Linked DNA regions of Homo sapiens: region 2 is linked to region 1. The links are contacts of gene promoters, found by promoter capture Hi-C in human tissues and cell types (Jung and others, 2019). All regions are on one chromosome and are shown on one strand. Each heading gives the region's core, a stretch centred on a gene start or on the middle of the fragment in contact. The rest is flanking DNA. Distances are from core to core; before and after follow the strand shown. Region 1 holds the start of USP18 (ubiquitin specific peptidase 18). Region 2 overlaps MICAL3 (microtubule associated monooxygenase, calponin and LIM domain containing 3).

Region 1 (4,404 bases), core at 648-3,147:
TATTTTTATTTTTGAGACGGAGTCTCCCTCTGTCGCCCAGGCTGGAGTGCAGTGGCCGGATCTTGGCTCACTGCAAGCTCCGCCTCCCAGGTTCACGCCATTCTCCTGCCTCAGCCTCCCGAGTAGTTGGGACTACAGGCGCCTGCCGCCACGCCCAGCTAATATTTTTTATTTTTAGTAGATGGGTTTGCACCGTGTTAGCTAGGATGGTCTTGATCTCCTGACCTCGTGATCCACCTGCCTCGGCCTCCCAAATTGCTGGGATTACAGGCGTGAGCCACCGCGCCCGGCCTATTTTGCATTTCTTGAGTAATCGTAATATGCGGGTTAGAACACACGGATTACAACACTTTGGATGAAAAACCACATAATAGGGAAATTTTGGGACTACTCTCTCTCAAAAAAAAAAACAGCTCGTGGAAAAACTAGGACTTACCTTCTTTGAAACTATGTTTATGTTAAGCATTTTCCCCTTTGTAAGCTCATCATTGTGTAAAAGTGTCAGAACTGTGCAACACATTTTTTAACAGTCCAAAAGCAAGTTCTTTGATAAATCAATATGAAGCCGTGCACCTGTGTTACTCTCCCTCCCGTTTTGTTCCTGCGAACACATCGGTAACCTGCATTCACTCTCCATCCAACTCTGTTCAATACCAGAAAGAAACTTCAGATGAAATGCTTTTCAGTATTTGCCTTGTTTTCTGGAACAACTTTAAAGTACAAATTATACCTAAATAAGTACAAATTAAAGCCTCTGCTTTAATTTTCAAACACTTTGAACCCAGATTTTCAGGGGTCTCAAAATGGAGTTTTGTGTTTAAAAGTCTAAATTTAGCTTTCTTCCAAGGAAAAGGGTGTGAAGAAGAGAGGTTAAGACTAAAATACTCTGATTTGCAGAGTTTGACAACATCCTTCCAATTTCTCAATATGAATGCCCACTGACCCAGCCATTCCACTTCTAGGAATTTTCCACCGATATATTTGTATGAATGTATACATAAAATTATATTCATTGCCGTATCTGTGCCAGTAAAAACTGGAAACAACCTAAATCTCCATGCATTGTTTAAACAATGTACTTCCCATACCATGTATCAGGTTTTTTTGTTTGTTTGTTTGAGACAGTTTCGCTCTGTCGCCCAGGCTGGAGTGCAACGGTGCGATCTCGGCTCACCGCAACCTCCGCTCCCGGGTTCAAGCGATTCTCCTGCCTCAGCCTCCCGAGTAGCTGGGATTACAGGCATGCGCCACCACGCCAGGCTAATTTTGTATTTTTAGTAGAGACGGGGTTTCTCCATGTCTGTAACTCCTGACCTCAGGTGATCCTCCCTCCTCGATCTCCCAAAGTGCTGGGATTACAGGCGTGAGCCACCGTACCCGGCCGAATCAGTTTTTTGTTTTATTTTTAATGCCATTAACACATCTATATGTCCTGCCATGAAAAGATGTCCATAATATACTCAGTGGACAAAGCAAGTTCGAAATGATTTTAAAGACTTGTACATAGAAACATTTCTGATAAGGTACAAACAAAAATGATACTGAGTGGAAGACTGCGAGACACATTTGTCTGCATTGTTTGAATTTTTTTACAAGCTTACAACACTTCTGCAATTTCTTTTTTTGTTTTAATTAAACACAAAGTCATGTCAAAAGTCCAAATAACTATATTAGCTTAGAAAAAAATTCACTGGCCCAAAATATATGCACGTAGTAAATACAGATCACTATCATAATTTGCAGAGCACAATTATTACTTAATTCCTTAATTATCTGACTGGCATAGGAGCAGAGTTGGATGTCTGTGCTAGAAAGAAAACTTCCAAAATGAGCCCCGAACTTGCCTCAAGCGCCATGCAAGCGTCCAGCCTCCGCTGCTGAGTTCCACGTCGGGACTGAGCCGGGGACCGAGCTGGGACCGAAGTTCCGCTCCGGGCCCGCCTTGGTCTGGCCCCGCGCTCGTGGCACCCCGCCCAGCTTTCGTTTTCCACTGAATGGAAAGCGAAACTTACAGCGGCCTCCGCGCCGGGAGCTGGGCGCCAGCGTGCGGGGAAACCCTGCCGGCCCGAGCTTCCCGCGGCTGCCGTTGCAGCCGCGCACCTGCTCCAGACTTCCAGCCCTCGCTTTTTTTTTTTTTTTTTTTTTTTGAGACGGAGTCTCATTCTGTCGTCCAGGCTGGAGTGCGGTTGCGCTGTCTCGGTTCACTGCAAACTCCGCCTCCTGGGTTCAAGCGATTCTCCTGCCTCAGGCTCCGGAGTAGCTGGGATTACAGGCATGCGCCACCACTCCTGGCTAATTTTTGTATTTTAGTAGCGATGGGGTTCCGCCATGCTGGCCAGGCTGGTCTCAGGTGATCCGCCCGCCTCCTAAAGTGCTGGGATTACAGGTGTGGGCCACCGCGCCCGACCTACAGGCGCCTTTTTATTTGCGATTTTAAGGTCCTTGCAATTAGCCTACGTGTTAGAGTCATTTGGCGTTTGGTAGTATCCATGGCAGCATTTTTTCTTTCTTAATGCTATTGTATTTCTTGGATCGGGTGTCTTCACATCACCGGCCTGTGGCTTGGATGCGGCACATGGTGTAATTAGGAGCTCCCCTGTGGGCATGCAGATACAGATATTTCTCCACTTAAGAAGGGGTCAGGGGGCGCGGTGGCTCACACCTGTAATCCCAGCACTTTGGGATGCTGAGGCAGGCGGATCACCTGAGGTCAGGAGTTCGAGACCAGCCTGACCAACATAGTGAAACCCCATCTCTACTAAAAGTACAAAAATTAGCTCGGCGTGGTGGCGCTTAATCCCAGCTACTTAAGAGGCTGAGGCAGGAGAATAACTTGAACCCAAGAAGCGGAGGTTGCAGTGAGCAGAGATCGACAAGAGCAAGACTCCGTCTAAAAAAAAAAAAAAAAAATGGGGTCAAGTCCCAGTGAACCCATCATGAAGTCGAAACATCGTAAGTGAAACCACGGTAAGTGATGGACCATCTGTGTATATATAAGGTTAAGAGATCTGTAACATGCACACCGGAAAGGCTTATTACCTCTTTAGAGATGTATTTCTTGTATGTAGACTCATGGGGGTAGGGGCAGAAGGGTTATCTGCTAGGGGCCTCAAACTCCAGCCGCTGGAATTTGCGCAGGAAAGCAGGGTACAATTCCCCCAAAGCGATCATTCTTTCTGAAAGCCGTCCCCGCAGCAACAGACAAATAGCCTCCAAAAACCCAAAGCTGCCAGAACCTCACTGAAGCGTTGGTAGGGTCTGCAGTAAGGTACAAAATACCATGGCATGAAGATGTATAAACGTGTCCATAATAGGGTGGATGTGTGTTAGAAGCATGAGCACAGATATACACATACAGGCTATCCACACGTCCATCGTCAGCCCAGACTCCGCTTACATTGCTGCTGGAACGGAGGCAGTGTCGCCCACAGTGCAGCATGTTCTCCCTGGAAGGCTGGTGGACTTTGCGCAGTATGGTGTTTACACAGGTACACGGTGGTGGGCGCAGGGTCCGTCCTCATTATATTTGCTGACCAATCAGTTATATAACCAGCTTCATACATCTGGTAAGTCTTGTCCACAAACAGGAACCTCAAAAACTCAAGTGAGGGCAATGAGGAGAGGAGGTTGCAAAATTTGATAAAATATGCTAAATACAGCAAGTCAGTAGAAGGCTAAGGAGCAAGCTGCAGTTGCTTGCAGCAACTATCAGCAGAAAACTATTAATAGTCAATCCAATGATTCTATCTGAATCTTGGTAGGTCGGTGGAGCAAAGTAATTGGTGTTGCTGCCCCAGTGCAGAATGGACAAGGGTGAACCTTGGGTTGGAGGCTGGACTATATAATGTAAGGATCCATTACACTTCTATGGGGCTCTTCCTTCCGTCCTTCATGGTACCCTCCTGAACAATTCCGTGCTAAGGCCATCAGGTGTGTCAAGCAAAGTGGGCGTTTGTGTAGTATGTTCCACAGTGGCCCAAGCAGGGTGCTGGACTGGAGCAGGTTGAGGAGGGTGGCAGCACAGTGGGGCTGCCCAGCACAATGTCAGACACAAATGGGTGCTGGTGCAGCCCGGCCCAGGGTCACAGCCCAAGCAATTTGAAGATGTGGCACATCCCGGTATTGGAGTGGCCCAGTGTGTGGTGTCCAGGGAGGGCAGGGTGCTGGTGGAGATGACAGATTAGTTACATACAGGGGGATGACCAGGTAACTGAATGTATTAAGGATAATTGGAGCCAGAGTTGAAACTCTCAGAGATAGGAGTTACAAATAAGGAAAGGGAGAATGAGCCCACTAGTGTTGAACTGGAATTGGACTTAGCAGTGTGGATCCATGATTTTCAGTATGTATACACAGATAGATAAAGAAGTACAAGGCGGGTGGATCACGAGGTCAGGAGATTGA
Region 2 (4,640 bases), core at 1,497-3,996, 190 kb after region 1:
GGAAGCTACTGTAGGAATGGGAGTGAGCTAGCCATGCTGGGGCAGGGAGCCACAGCCGCGCTCAGCCTGGAGGGAAGATGCCTTCCGGGAACTGTGGTGCTGCTTTCTGTGCACACCTTCTCTTCCTGTGTCCCCATGAGGCTGAGAGAGAAGCCTCCTTTTGCTCATCAGTTTATCCACAGACGTTAAGTGCTCTTTGCTTACAGAGTGCACTCCTAGGCATTGGGATGCCATTGAGTCTTGAAGGTAGGGAAGGTATCATGAGCTTTTCGTCCATGTCAAATGAGTTCAGTTCCTTCAGCCTTGCCTTATAAGGTCTGTCTTCCATCCAGTTAATTTTTTTTTTCTGTACCCTTTCCATGTTTTTCCCCCCTTTATTTGCCTTTATTTTTCTGTCCCAGAAGGATTCTGTTCTTATGGGCAGGGAGAGCTATCTATTTCCCTAACCTACTTAATTCTTTACTAACAAAAACAGTCCTGACCCACTCAACCCCACCATTTTCCACACGTAGGCAGTCATCTTTGTAAACCTCCACTGGTGCTGGCTGCGTTTAGAACATACTCCATATAAAACAGGCCCTGAGGTGTGGTGGCTCATGCCTGTAATCCCAGCACTTTGGGAGGCTAAGGCAGGCAGATCACCTGAGGTCAGGAGTTTGAGACCAGCCTGGCCAACATGGTGAAACCGTGTCTCTACTAAAAATACAAAAATTAGCCGGGCCTGGTGGCAGGTGCCTGTAATCCCAGCTACTCGGGAGGCTGAGGCAGGAGAATCGCTTGAACCTGTGGGTCAGAGGTTGCAGTGAACCAAGATTGCGCCACTGCACTCCAGCCTGGGTGACAGAGCGAGACTCTGTTTCAAAAAAACCCAGGCCGATGGCTGGGCACGGTGGCTCACACCTGTAATCCCAGCACTTTGGGAGCCTGAGGTGGGTGGATCACAAGGTCAGGAGATCGAGACCATCCTGGCTAACACAGTGAAACCCCATCTCTACTAAAAATGCAAAAAATTAGCCGGGCGTGGTGGTGGGCGCCTGCAGTCTCAGCTACTCGGGAGGCTGAGGCAGGAGAATGGCGTGAACCCGGGAGGCGGAGCTTGTAGTGAGCCGAGATTGCGCCACTGCACTTCAGCCTGGGCAACAGAGCGAGACTCCATCTCAAAAAAAAAAAAAAAAAAAAAAACCCCAGGCCCGGCGCAGTGGCTTATGCCTGTAATCCCAGCACTTTGCGAGGCCGAGGCGAGCAGATCACCTGAGGTCAGGACTTCAAGACCAGCTTGGCCAACATGATGAAACCCTGTCTTTACTAAAAATACAAAAAAATTAGCTGGGTGTGGTGGCGGACGCCTCTAATCTCAGCTACTCAGGAGGCTGAGGCAGGTGAATCACCTGAACCCGGGAGGTGGAGGTTGCAGTGAGCTGAGATCACGCCATTGCACTCTGGCCTGGGCAACAAGAGCGAAACTCTGTCTCAAAAGAAAAAAAAAATAAAAAAACCCAACAACTCAAAAACAACAGGCCCTGAGACCAGGCTGCCCTGCTTCAGCCCACTTCTTGTGGTCAGTTCTGGCCCTGCTGGCTACTGTGTGTTGGTGCTATGGTCCACTCCATGGGCGGATGATTCAGCTTGCCCTGTCGAGGGCTCCCTCTGGTTTTTGGGGTAGGGGAGCCAGTTTTCTAGCTTTAACGGGGGATGAGGGTGAGGATGGGGTGCAGCTGAGGCCCAAGGCCGATGCAGGAGACACCTTAGCAGGAAGGCAGAGCTGAGCTGTGACCCCACTGTCTTTTCTTTCTTCCGTAACTGCCTCTGGCCATCTGCCATCATCATCAGTGTGTGGAGTGCGTTCAACTCAGTCTCTCTGACGGTTTTTAGGGAACAGAACACAAATAACAACGTGGCCTGAGGACCCAAAGTGGCCCTAGCAAGGGTGAGTATTGGCCAATGAGGTAATGGACAGAGGAATTGGAGATTTGTTGAGTTCTGTATAGGGAGGATTTTTCTGCAGGAGGTAGTAGAAGATAAGCTATCCAAAAAGTGTCATAGGTTAATTGTAATGGGGTCCACGTTATTTTAATTGTTGAGAAAAATCTACAGGTTTATATCATCTGGGGTCCACTAAAGAGATCGTGTTATGCCAACTCATTGGGTCAGTTTTTCCTAAGATTTCAGTTATGGGTAATGTGGAATTTTTAGGTTTTTTGGGATGAATCTTCCTTGGTCTAACTCCACGAGGAAAGCTCTGCTCTTTTCTCAGTAGCAGGGCTTGCCGCTTAAGAAACTCCAGCCACCACAGCTGTCTTCCATATGCAGGCACCATTTGACAGGCTGCCGTGGTGGGATCTCTCCAGGCTCCCTGTGACTGTACCATTTCATCTTCTTCAGAGCTTCTCTTAGTAAAGAAAGAAAGTTTCTTTCTTTCGTTCTTTCATTCTCTCTCTCTCTCTCTCTCGTTTTCTTTCTCTCTCTTTTTTTTTTTTTTTTTTTGACATAGTTTCACTCTTGTCGCCCAGGTTGGAGTGCAGTGGCTTGATCTCAGCTCACTGCAACCTCTGCTTCCTGGTTCAAGCGATTCTCCTGCCTCAGCCTCCTGAGTAGCTGGGATTACAGGCGCACGCGACCATGCCCAGCTAATGTTTTGTATTTTTAGTAGAGATGGGATTTTGCCATGTTGCCCAGACTGGTCTAGAATTCCTGGCCTCAAGTGATCCTCCCTCCCAAAGTGCTGGGATTATAGGCGTGAGCCATCGAGCCCAGGCTCTCAGTAAAGAAGGCTTTCTATTCACATTTTTGTATCAGATGAGATTAGTTTCAGTCGGAAATTGCAAAATGTGGCTTAGCATGAAAGAAGATTTTCTTTTTATGTAAAAGGACCCTAGAGATGGGAAGCCCAGAGCCAGTGTAGCCAGCTGCATGGCCATCAGGATTTTGTCTCGTTCCTTCTACCTGGACTTGCCAGCTAAAGCCTGGTGATTGTGTGGCCCACTCTATGGATTGACAGGTGAGAGTTCAATTTGACCTAACTCCACTACCCTGGCACGTAGCTTTCTCATCCTTAAGGTTACCTCATAACAAAGCATGGCTGCCGGAGCTCCAGCCATCTTTCTTTTCTTTCTGGGTAGAACACCAAAGGGAGGAAATGTAAAGAAAGGCAAAATGTTTTTCTATGTGAGAGACTCCTTTAAAGGAGTCTTTCAGGAAGACCCACACACTTCTGCTTATATCTCATTAACCAGAACCTGGAAAACATGGTCACAGCTAGCTTCAAGGAAGTTTGAGAAATGCGGTTTTGTAAGTGAGTGCATCACTGGCTCTAGTAAGATTGGGGTACTGTTACTAAGAAGGAAATCTTTCTCCAGTTGGTGTCTGACTTCGTCTCTGTAGTGTCTCTCACGTGAGCACCTTCTGCTTCATGTGAGTCCACTTCTTCCTGCCCTGTATGCACGTAAGCAGTCCTCCCTCCAGACACAGGCTGGCTGTCCTCGCAGCTCTCCTTTGCTCTTCTTTTCTCGGAGCTAAGTCGTAGTCGCAGTGCAGGAGTCGGCTGTGCCCAGGCTGGAGTGCAATGGCGTGATCTTGGCTCACGGCAACCTCTGCCTCCCAGGTTCAAGCAATTCTCCTGCCTCAGCCTCCCAAGTAGCTGGGACTACAGGCATGCACCACCACACCTGGCTAATTTTGTATTTTTAGTAGAGACGGGGTTTCTCCATGTTTGTCAGGCTGATCTCGAACTCCTGACCTCAGGAGGCCCGCCTCGGCCTCCCAAAGTGCGGGGATTATAGCCGTGAGCCACCATGCCCGGCCGGTAGTGCATGGATTTCTGTAGGTACCATAGCAGTGTCAGTGCAAAGCTTGGCATACCTGGGAGGTTGCTGCCTCTGTGTTTCTGGGCTCTTCTCCCCATCCCCTTTCTGCAACTGTCTGTTTGGAAGTTGTGATCTTGACATGTGGCCCTTCTAGCCCCATGGCTTAGCACTGTGGGGCCCCGGAGGAGTGGGCTCTGGATGAGCATGCAGCACCCTTGAACATGTTGGATTCAGCCAGTGTGGATGTCGGCATGAGACGCTGACACAGGCATGTGTGTGCCCTCTGCAGCTCCCTTCTGCAGCTGCCTCTCCTATAAGACCAGGAATTTCAGAGGACACTCTCTCAGGAGCCCCTCTTCCTGGACATTTTCTTCCCTTGTGCTCATAAACATTCATAAACACCGTTTAATGGTCGAAGATTTTGGTTTATGACTAAAAATCTGAAATTCCTAAAATCTCTGTGGATTCAAGTCCTTAGGAAAGCTGGAGCAAACATGCAGCTGAGTGGGGAGTCGGAGATCTCTCAGATCTTTTCCCGGTCCAATCCTCAGCAGTTCTGTGATGCTGGCTGGGGCTTCTCAGGCATGAGATCTATTTCCACCTCCCACTCTAGGCTGGAAGTTGTCCAGGAAATTGTCACTGACATATTGAGGTGCATAGCAAATGCAGCTGGTAGAAGAAATGTGGGGTTCATCTTAGAAAATGCTGCTCCAAGGATCGGCTTGAGAAAGTGTTAATTTGTAAGAATTAAATGAGGATATTATGGGATGTTGGAAGGTGGGAATAAGTGTGTGAGTGAGTGTAGGCATCTCTTGGCTTTTCAGTGGTTCTCAGCCA

Evidence for each region. Contacts are between HindIII fragments. The study calls those that stand out against the background at their distance.
Region 2: a fragment that was not itself captured here is called in contact with the fragment with the promoter of USP18 in region 1 in 6 of the 25 tissues and cell types used here (dorsolateral prefrontal cortex, heart left ventricle, hippocampus and 3 more).

What each region holds. Positions count from the first base shown.
Region 1 is chr22:18,147,663-18,152,066 of GRCh38, reverse strand. USP18 (ubiquitin specific peptidase 18) reads right to left here and starts at 1,897. Exons shown (of 11, transcript NM_017414.4): 1 at 1,845-1,897. It overlaps LOC124905076 (a long non-coding RNA gene), which reads left to right and starts at 2,853. Exons shown (of 2, transcript XR_007067999.1): 1 at 2,853-2,967. RefSeq lists an enhancer at 1,837-2,156. The HindIII fragment of the contact is 12,042 bases long and covers 624-4,404 here.
Region 2 is chr22:17,955,553-17,960,192 of GRCh38, reverse strand. The region is part of intron 1 of MICAL3 (microtubule associated monooxygenase, calponin and LIM domain containing 3); the gene reads left to right. Among named protein-coding and RNA genes, the nearest start is that of MIR648, 23 kb to the left of the region's middle. RefSeq lists enhancers at 3,311-3,810, 3,811-4,312. The HindIII fragment of the contact is 9,939 bases long and covers 1-4,640 here.